Regions from separate parts of the Homo sapiens genome. Here region 1 is linked to region 2. Evidence: promoter capture Hi-C in 16 types of primary human blood cells and fetal thymus (Javierre and others, 2016). All regions are on one chromosome and are shown on one strand. The core of a region is centred on a gene start or on the middle of the fragment in contact, and the rest is flanking DNA. Distances in the headings are between cores, read along the strand shown.

Region 1 (4,934 bases), core at 1,326-3,825, 540 kb after region 2:
GCACTCCAGACTGGGCAACAGAGCGAGACTCCGTCTCAAAAAAAAAAAAAAAAAAAAAAAGTCTGATGCTATGGCAAGAAAAGCTTGAAACTCCAATTATTCCTGAGTTGACATGGTTTGCAAACATTTTCTGTGCCATTCTCCTCCTGAAGCAACCACTGCAAATTGTTTGGGATACAAATGAAGCCAAGGAAAGGGGACAAGTAGGAGGGAGTAACACAGAATAGAAACAAGGCCAGTGAAGAGAGGCCAAGGTTATTGACTTTAACCAGGAAATCAACTCATGACTGCAGGAGCCAGCCTTGGGGAACACCCACCACACAAGAGTCATTAAAAACAACGTTGTGACAGAACAAAGAAAGAAAAACAAAAACAAAACAAAACAATCTGGCTAATTAAGCACCACTGTTGCTTTTACTGCATCTCATGGTGATTATCTGTTTACAAACCCGTCTCCCACAGTGAACCACCAGTTCCACAAAAGCAGAGACCACCCCTCACCCGTGTCTGAACCCAGCTCTCTTTCAGTAAAGGAAGTCAAGCCACTTTTTTACCATCTCTGCTGTCATTACCCCAATCCAAACCTCCAGCATCGCTCTCCTACAGTGTTTGCATGATAATAACCAACACCAGCATTTAGAATGCACTTATTCTGTGCCAGGCACTGTTTCAGTGGAATTCACTCATTCAATCCTCATAGAGCTCTAAGGAAGGTCCTATCATTTCCAACTGTTCTTGTAGATCCCTGTAGTCACTGATTTCAGATGTGACTGGCCTCTCACTTCCTCATAAAAAACATACAGAACACCCACTCCCATCATGAGGACACTGAGGCTCAGAGACACTAAATGAGTTATTTTAGGAGGCACAGCTAGATTGGCAGAACTAGGATGGCCCTCAACTGACTTCCCGGTATGTCTGTCACAACCATGCTGCTCAGCAGCCAGAGTGAAGTGAGCTTTTCAAACGTGAAACTCATCCAAACTCTTCTTTGGGAGGCCAAGGTGGCTGGATCACCTGAGGTCAGGAGTTCAAGACCAGCCTGGCCAACATGTTGAAACCCCGTTTCTACTAAAAATACAAAAATTAGCTGGGTGTGGTGGCAGGCGCCTGTAATCCCAGACTTGGGGGGCTGAGGCAGGAGAATCGCTTGAACCCGGGAGGTGGAGGTTGCAGTGAGCCGAGATTGTGCCATTGCAGTCCAGCCTGGGTGACAGAGCGAGACTCCATCTGGAAAATAAAAATAAAAATAAACAAAAAATAAAAAACTCTTCTGCCGCTTGCAGTGGCTCACACCTGTAATCCCAGCACTTTGGGAGGCTGAGGCAAGAGGATCCCTTGAGACCAGGAGCTCGAGACCAGCCTGGGCAAAATAGTAAGACCTCATCTCTACCAAAACCTTAAAAAATTAGCTGAGCGTGGTGGCGGGTATCTGTAGTCTCAGCTACTTGGGAGGCTGAGGCGGGAGGATCGCTTGAGCCCGGGAGCCGGAGCCTGCGGTGACCCATGTTCACACCACAGCACTCCAGCCTGGGTGACAAAGGGAGACCTTGTCTCAAAAAAATAAAAAATTGGCTGGGAACGGTGGCTCACACCTGTAATCCCAACGCTTTCGGAGGCCGAGGCGGGTGGATCACCTGAGGTCAGGAGTTCGAGAACAGCCTGGCCAACATGGTGAAACCCCGTCCCTACTAAAAATATAAAACTTAGCCGGGCGTGGCGGCGGGCGCCTGTAATCCCAGCTACTCCAGAGGCTGAGGCAGCAGAATGGCTTGAACCCGGGAGGCGGAGGTTGCAATGACCCGAGTCGTGCCACTGCGCTCCATCCAGCCTGGGTGACAAGAGCGAAACTCCGTCTCAAAGAAAAAACTAAAACTCTTCCCATGGTTTCCTTTTAAAACAGACCCTCCATGACCAACCCCTCCATTTCAATACCAGAGAGCCTAACCCGACCTGAAATCACTTTAGTCATGTATGACATCCGCTTCCCAGCCCCCTTCCTTAATGCTCTGGGTTCTGGAGACAGACCACGTCTGTTGGGAGTCCTCTGTGCCCACGCCTGGCACAGAGCCTGGCAAAGAGTAAGCGCTCAAGGAAGATCTGTGAACTTGATGCATGCTAAAAGGAAGCCCCGCGCTCTGCCGGGGCCCTGGAACTCAGGCCACCGGCTCCAGGCGGAAGCGAGCCCAAAGCCGGCCAGGCGGCAGCATCCGCTACCCCGTGGCTCAAGCCAGGCTCCGAGGTGAGAAACCGGGCGGGGACTCCTCACCTGCGCGCCGCGGAGGCCGTGCCAGATGGGCCCTGCCAAAGTCAGCCAGAGGTTCGGGCCCCACGCCTGGCCTTCCACCCTCCCCGGGGCAGCCGCGCCTCAGACCCTCGCGGTAGGGACGGTCCCCGGGACTGGGCGGCAACGCGCCCGGGAGCGGGGCCCCATCCCGGACGGAGACTGGGCCGGTGAGTCCTCGAGCTCTGGCTCTGGCTCCGGCTCCGGCTCCGGCTCCGGCTCCGGCTCCGGCTCCAGCAGGCTGGAGGGGCGGCCAGGCCAGACCCAGACTGGCTGGGCCTCGTCCGGCGCTGGGCCCGTTCCCCTGACAACGGCGCGGGCTACGGCGCCCCACAGCGGCCAAACCGCGCTGCGTCACTCCGCGCCGGTCCCCCGGCCAGGGCGGGGCTTGCCAGGGACCCTCTTGGTGCCCCAGTCGGCCCATTCCCAGATTCTTCCTAACCTTTCGTCTAGAAAATCCGCTTTTCCCTACTCCCGAGTCACAGCTTGTCTCCCCGAAATCCTAACATCTCAAAAGCGCCCCCTTCCAGTTTCTATCCTGAGACCACCGCTCTCAAGAAGAGACCTCCCCCAACCCCAGTCAACCTGCACACTTCAATGAGCGTATGTGCTGGAACATCCATGATATCCCGACCCTTCCGGGAGCTTACAGGTTAAGAGGCAAACAGATCTAGACAAATAAATTACACCACTAAAAATGCAGGTACCCCAGAATATAAAGCGAGAAGCGTAAGAGCTTAAAATAAGCAGCACAAAATATCTCATTTATTTATTGCCTTTAAATCAAGCAAAAATCAAGCCCCAATCTTCCAGGCTGATGGGAAATTCAGTCTTTTTCTATTTTTTAAACTGGTCTCTGTTACCCAGGCTGGAGTGCAGTGGCACGATCACGGCTCTCTGCAGCCTCGAACTCCTGGGCTCAGGCGATCCTCCCGCCTCAGCCTCCAGAGTAGCTAGGACTACAGGCGAACACCACCACGCCCGACTAATTTTCGCATTTTTTTGTAGAGGCGTGGTTTTGCCATGTTGCCCAGGCTGGTTTCGAACTCCTGAACTCAAGCGACCCGCCCACCTCAGCCTCCAAAAGTGCTAGGATTACAGGCGTGAGCCCCTGCCCGGCCGGGAAATTCAGTCTCAGTCTCCACTGTACTCCTTTTAGCTAGGTAATTCCAAAGGACTCATGTTTTCCTATAGCAAAAAACAACAATCAAAAACAAATAAGCAAAAAACTCTCTGGTCAGGGTTTTGTCTGGTACTGAGGCCACAACCATTGCTCCAGTCCACAAAGATTTTCAGGTTTGGGCTCTATGAGGCCATCCCTGCCTGAGGCCCCTGCCTCTCCCTGGGGCTGCCAGGGACAGACACCTGCTTCCTCTGCTCCATGGCCTGCAGCCTCCCTTCCCTTTCTCTACCTGGGAGACTTCCCTGCTAACTTGGTTTCCCTAAAAGTCCCCTCTCCTCTTCTCCTTGTGGACACTCAGAATGGAATCTTCTATGAGCTCAGGCTTTCTCAAAAGACAGGAAGACACTTTGTCTTCTGCTATCTGTCCTGTGCGCATCTCCAAGGCAGATATGACAGATAGGGAAAGAAAACATCCTTATCTCTAAAATGTATAAGTCACAAGCATACTTATTGTATGTTTTATTAGGCAACATAACTACTCCTTCTCTGTCACATGACAGGTGTGTGGGTCCTTGTGCAAGTGACATAACCTATTACTTAAATTCTTGTTTTCAAGACTGATAAACTCAAACTCAATGTGAGATAAATATCAATGCTATTCTGGCTTCAGAGTACAAGCTGACTACTTAACTCTTATCTGGAATTGGAAAACTTCGGGTCAAACAGAGATCATGACCCAGAAATCAAGGTGAAGGATGAGGCTGGATGCAGTGGCTCACACCTGTAATCCCAGCACTTTAAGGAGGCTGAGGCAGGAAAATCACTTGAAGCCAGGAGTTTGAGACCAGCCTGGGATACATAGAGAGACTCCCATCTCTACAAAAGATGAAAAAAAATAGCTGGGCCTGGTGGCCTGTGCCTATAGTCCCAGCTACTCACGAGGCTGGGGCAGGAGAAAAGAATCACTTGAGTTCGGGAGTTCAAGATTGCAGTGAATTACGATCATGCCACTGCACTCCAGCCTGGGTGAAAGTAAGATCTTATCTCTCAGCTGGTCTCAGTGGCTCACACCTGTAATCCCAACACTTTGGGAGGCCAAGGCAGGTGGATCATGAGGTCAGGAGATCGAGACCATCCTGGCTAACACGGTGAAACCCCATCTCCACTAAAAGTACAAAGTAAGCCAGGCGTGATGGCATGTGCCTGTAGTCCCAGCTACTCGGGAGGCTGAGGCAAGAGAATGGCTTGAACCCAGGAGGCAGAGGTTGCAGTGACCCGAGATCGCACCACTCTACTCCAGCCTGAGTGACAGAGTGAGACTCTGTCACACACAAAAAAAATCTTATCTCTCTCTCTCTCTCTTTTTTTTTTTTTTTTGAGACGGAGTCTCGCTCTGTCTCCCAGGCTGGAGTGCAGTGGTGCGATCTCAGTTGACTGCAGCTTCCACCTCCCGGGTTCAGGCGATTCCCCTGCCTCAACCTCCCGAGTAGCTGGGATTACAGTTGCCTGCCACCATGGGATTGCAGG
Region 2 (5,194 bases), core at 326-2,825:
GCTTAATGGTTTGTGGGAAACCACTAAAGACTTTAGGGCAGGAGGCCGGGCGCGGTGGCTCACGCCTGTAATCCCAGCACTTTGGGAGGCGGAGGCGGGCGGATCACGAGGTCAGGAGATCGAGACCATCCCGGCTAAAACGGTGAAACCCCGTCTCTACTAAAAATACAAAAAATTAGCCGGGCGTAGTGGCGGGCGCCTGTAGTCCCAGCTACTTGGGAGGCTGAGGCAGGGGAATGGCGTGAACCCGGGAGGCGGAGCTTGCAGTGAGCCGAGATCCCGCCACTGCACTCCAGCCTGGGCGACAGAGCGAGACTCCGTCTCAAAAAAAAAAAAAAAAAAAAAAAAAAAAGACTTTAGGGCAGGAATTTGAGGGTTTTTTTGGTTTGTTTTTGTTTCTGTTTTTGTTTTTTTTGAGACAGACTCTCACTCTGTCTCCCAGGCTGGCGTGCAGTGGCATGATCTCACCTCAGTGCAACTTCCACCTCCCTGGTTCAAATGATTCTCATGCCTCAGCCTCCCAGGTAGCTGGGACTACAGGCGCGCACCACCACTCCCAGCTAATTTTTGTATTTTTAGTAGAGACGGTTTCGTGATGTTGGCCAGGCTGGTCTCAAACTCCTGACCTCAGGAGATCCCCCCGCCTCGGCCTCCCAAAGTGCTGGGATTACAGGCAGGAGCCACCGCACTCGGCCTTGGAATTTGAGTTTTAGAAGTGTCATTCTGCCAGGCGTGATGGCTCACGTCTGTAATCCCAGCACTTTGGGGAGGCTGAGGTGGGAGGATTGCTTGAGCCCGGCAGTTTGAGACCAGCCTGGGCAACATAGAAAGACCTTGTCTCTACCCACCAACCACGAGAAAAGGTGGGAGGGGCGTCATTCTGGCTGCTCTGCTCTGTGGTTAGGACCAAGTCAAAGGTGGAGGAGGGAAAACCGTAAAATCAAGTGAGAGGCTTGGAATAGGGTGGCTGCGTCGCCGGATGGATGAGTGGAGAGAGATTTAGGAGATAGGATTTACAGCATTAGATAACTGGAAAGAGAGGGTGAGGGAGAGGAAGGAGTCAAGATGCCTCCCAGGGTTTTGGCTTGGGTCTCTGGGCAGATGGTGGGGCCATTACTGGGTTAGGAGAGAAGAGAAAAAGCAAGTTTGGCAGAAAGCTGAGTTTGGGGTAAGTTATGTTTGAGGCGCCTGGGGGCCTCCAGAGGCAGGTGTCCAGGTGGCTGGACATCAGGGTGTGGCGCTCAAGAGAGGGTTCTGGAGTGGTCGACACCGAAGTGGAGAGGAAGCAGTGAGGTGTTCTAACAACGGTGAGGAATTGGGGAGGCCGCTGGGTTCGGGGTATGCAGAGTGTAGCGGCCACGTAGCTGGCGATCTCAGGCACGTGACTGCCTGGTCCTGTGGCCCCGCGCTCGAACACTTTCAGCACCCAGGCAGGGGGTAAGGGGCGGTGTTGCCCCCTCCCGGGTCCCGCCTTTCTGCCCGCCTCTCATCCTCTTTAGCCATTGGGCAATACCTCTGTCCATCAAGGGCCCGCCTCCGCAATTGAGCCAACCAGGGCTGGCGGGAGGGCGCTTCCTTCTGGAGCTGGGTCCTGACTAGGGACCGCCTGGGTGAGGTGAGGACCTGGTGGCCGCAGTTGTGGCACTGTGCGCAGGCGCTGAACTGACCGGACGGAGCGGGCGGCTGTGGCCTCGCCAGCTGGTGAGAAGCGGGCGAGGGTCCGAGGTAGGGAAGGTAACGAGCGGGGGATGTGGACACCTCTTTCCCCGCCAGGCCTCGCCGGCGCCTGACCCTCCCGGCCTGCGGCACCGGCTCAGGTGACTGGGCGGAGGGAGAGCTGAGGTGAGGGGGCGGGTCCGCGGCGGAGAGGGACCAGCTGGGCCTACGACCACGGTCACCCCACTCACGTGCGCGCGCCACGTGGGCCCGCGGGCTCGCCGAGGACCCTTGGCTGCCTACCGGGGCACCCCACTAGCTGCTCTGGCCTATCGAGCACCCCTTGGAGCTCTGTGTCCCGACTGCACGCCCCTGTTTTACAGGCTGGCAAGCCGGGGCTCAGAGGCACCAAGCGGGTCGCCCGGGGGCACCCAGCTGGGGTACGGCCGTGCCGGGGTTCTAGGGAGATCGGTTTTGGTGGGCTCCGGAGTCCATGCACTTAGCGATGAGGCTGAAGTCAGAGATTTGAACTTGGGACCTGTCTGTTTTCTTTAAGGATGCAAGAGGGTTTGCGTCCTGGCTGCGGTGTATCACCCTGCACCGCTGCCTGCCTTGACTGCAGGGCCGGAGCGTCAGGCGCCCTCTGCTCCCGGACAGACCGCCCCCGCACCGACTTCTGCGGGGTGGGCTGGCAGGGGGTGGGGGAGTGAAGGGACGGTCCTCAGTCCTGGGAACTCTTGAGGTCCCGACAAATGATCTCGAGATCCCGAGGGCAGGATTCATACATGAAAAGCTCATTATAATGGGTCAAGGTTTTGTTCTGTTTTTTTTTTTTTAATTTAATTTAATTTAATTTAATTTAATTTAATTTATTATATTCCAAGGAAAAGTACCACCAGGGCTAGTGAAGGGACTAGGAAACTCGTCACCCCCTTGAGGAGGCAGATGTGAAGCTTTTGGAAATCAGTTTGGCAATGAGTCTACACCCTTGGACCTACTGACTCCTTGTTTGGGAAATAACTAGGATAAAACCTAAGTAGAGAAAAGGTTACTGCATAAAGCAGTACAGTTTGGTGGGGTTTTGTTGTTGTTGTTGTTTTTAAAGAGACAGATCTGGCTCTGTCGCCCAGGCTGGAGTGCAGTGGTGTGATCATAGCTCACTGCAGTCTTGAAATCTTGGGCTCAAGCGATCCTCCCACCTCAGCCTCTTGAGTAGCTGGGACTACAGGCACTTACCACCATGCCCAGCTAATCTAAAAATTTTTGTAGAGATGGGGCACTTGCTGTATCACCCAGGGTGGTCTTAAACTCCCTAGCCTCAAGTGATCCTCTTGCCTTGGCCTCCCAAAATGCTGAGATTATAGGCATGAGCCACTGTGCCCAGTCCAGTTTGGTATTTTATATTAATAAATAGCAAGTAGTAGAAACAACCTCTAAATTTCCAGCCGTAAAGAATAGTTAAGTAAGTTGTGATTATTTATGTCAAAATGTAGCCATCAGATGTGAAAAAATACTCTTATCAGGAAAGCCAGATTCAAAGTTGGGGTTACAACTCTACAAAAATACGTACAGAATGACTGTGCGCAGTAGCTCCCACCTGTAATCTCAGCACTTTGGGAGGCCAAGGGCGGAAGATCGCTTGAGCCTAGGAGTTTGAGACCAGCCTGGAAAACACGGGGAGACCCTGTCTATTAGCTGGGCCTGGCGGCACATGCCTGTAGTCCCAGCTATGTAGGAGGCTGAGGCAGGAGGATCCCTTGAGGCCAGAAGGGCAAGGCTGCAGTGAGCCACGATCTTACCATTGCACTCTAGCCTGGGGACAGAGCCAGGCTCCATCTCAAAAACAAAACAAAACAAAAAAAAACCAAACAAAAAATACCCAGAATGACTTAGAGGGGTATATACCTAATGATGAAAATAATAGCTACTTTTTTTTTTTTAGCAGAAGCGTCATATTTTATTAAATTCTCACAAAACCTTCTAAGACTAATATTCCCATTCCACCAATAGATAACTGGAGTGTTACCTCATCAGCAGTGTGTCTGATGCTACACAAGATAGTATCACAGCTAGTGTGCTATTGGGCCTCTGAAAATGTCATATTTAGCCAGTATTTGAGGACTTAGTGTGTGCCGGGTACAGGGCCAGGCACTGGAAAGCTGTTGGTGAGTAAGGCAGCCATAGTTGCTTGAGTCATGGAGTTTATAGACTAGTGGGGAAATATACATGTATATAAAATTTAGTTTTTGAGACAGGGTCTTGCTCTGTTGCCCAGGCTGGAGTGCAGTGGCAGGAGCACAGCTCATTGCAGTCTTGACCTCCAGGGCTTAAGCAATCCTCTCACCTCAGCCTTACAAGTGAATGGGGCTATAGGTGTGCGCCACCATGCCCAACTAATTTGTAAAAAAATTTTTTGTAGAAACCAGGTCTCCTTATGTTGCCCAGGCTGGTCTTGGAACTCCTAGGCTCAAGTGATCCTCCCGCCTCAGCCTTTGGAGTGGTTACAGGTATGAGCCACTATGCCCGAAGCAGATTATTTATTTATTTATTTATTTTTGAGACGGAGTTTCGCTCTCGCCCAGGCTGGAGTGCAGTGGTGCAATCTTGGCTCACTGCAAACTCTGCCTCCTGGGTTCACGCCATTCTCCTGCCTCAGCCTCCTGAGTAGCTGGGACTACAGGCGCCCATCACTGCACCCAGCTAAATTTTTGTATTTTTAGTAGAGACGGGGTTTCACTGTGTTAGCCAGGATGGTCTCGATCTCCTGAACTCGTGATCAGCCCACCTCGGCCTCCCAAAGTGCTGGGATTACAGGCGTGAGCCACCGCGTCAGGCCTGTTTTTGTTTTCTTTGAGACAGGGTCTCACTCCCTCTCTAGTGAGGCCCAGGCTAGACTGCAGTGGCACAATCACTGCTTTCTGCAGCCTCAACTTACCAGGCTCAGATGATTCTCCTACCTCAGCCTCCCAAGTAGCTGTGACTATAGATACACACCACCATGCCTGGCAATTTTTTTATTTTTTTTATTTTTTTGGAGAGACAGGGTTTCACCATGTTGCCCAGGCTAGTCTCGAACTCCTGGGCTCAAGCTATCCACCCACCTTGGCCTCCCAAAGTGCTAGGATTACAGGCATGAGCCACCAGGCCTGGCCCCCGAAGCAGATATTTAAATGAACACTTATAGTCTGCTGGTGAGAGTGAGTTTAGTGTATTTTAAATAGTTTATTCTAAGTCATTTTTGTTCAGGATATTAGCAAATGTTTTCAGAAGTCAGTATTTTTAAGAAATTAAATTTGTGGCTGGGTGCTTTGGCTCACGCCTGTAATCCCAGCACTTTGGGAGGCCGAGGCAGGTGGATCACAAGGTCAGGAGATCGAGACCATCCTGGCTAACATGGTGAAACCCTGTCTCTACTAAACATACAAAAAATTGGCCAGGTGTGGTGGCGGGCGCCTGTAGTCCCAGCTACTCCAGAGTCTGAGGTAGGAGAATGGCATGAACCTGGGAGGCGGAGCTTGCAGTGAGCAGAGATCACACC

The links. Contacts are between HindIII fragments. The CHiCAGO score rates a contact against its expected background, and 5 or more counts as called.
Region 1: a contact is called between the fragment with the promoter of ZDHHC1 here and the fragment with the promoter of PDP2 in region 2, in 6 of 17 cell types (naive B cells, activated CD4 T cells, M0 macrophages and 3 more). The highest score is 10.8, in naive B cells.

The regions. Positions count from the first base shown.
Region 1 is chr16:67,413,902-67,418,835 of GRCh38, forward strand. ZDHHC1 (zDHHC palmitoyltransferase 1) reads right to left here and starts at 2,576. Exons shown (of 12, transcript NM_001323627.2): 1 at 2,270-2,576. It overlaps LOC124903702 (a long non-coding RNA gene), which reads left to right and starts at 2,002. Exons shown (of 2, transcript XR_007065093.1): 1 at 2,002-2,242. RefSeq lists a silencer at 2,243-2,632 and an enhancer at 2,465-3,122. The HindIII fragment of the contact is 9,596 bases long and covers 82-4,934 here.
Region 2 is chr16:66,878,940-66,884,133 of GRCh38, forward strand. It overlaps PDP2 (pyruvate dehydrogenase phosphatase catalytic subunit 2), which reads left to right and starts at 1,576. Exons shown (of 2, transcript NM_020786.4): 1 at 1,576-1,701. RefSeq lists enhancers at 1,290-1,369, 1,618-2,390 and a silencer at 1,850-2,029. The HindIII fragment of the contact is 2,608 bases long and covers 1-2,607 here.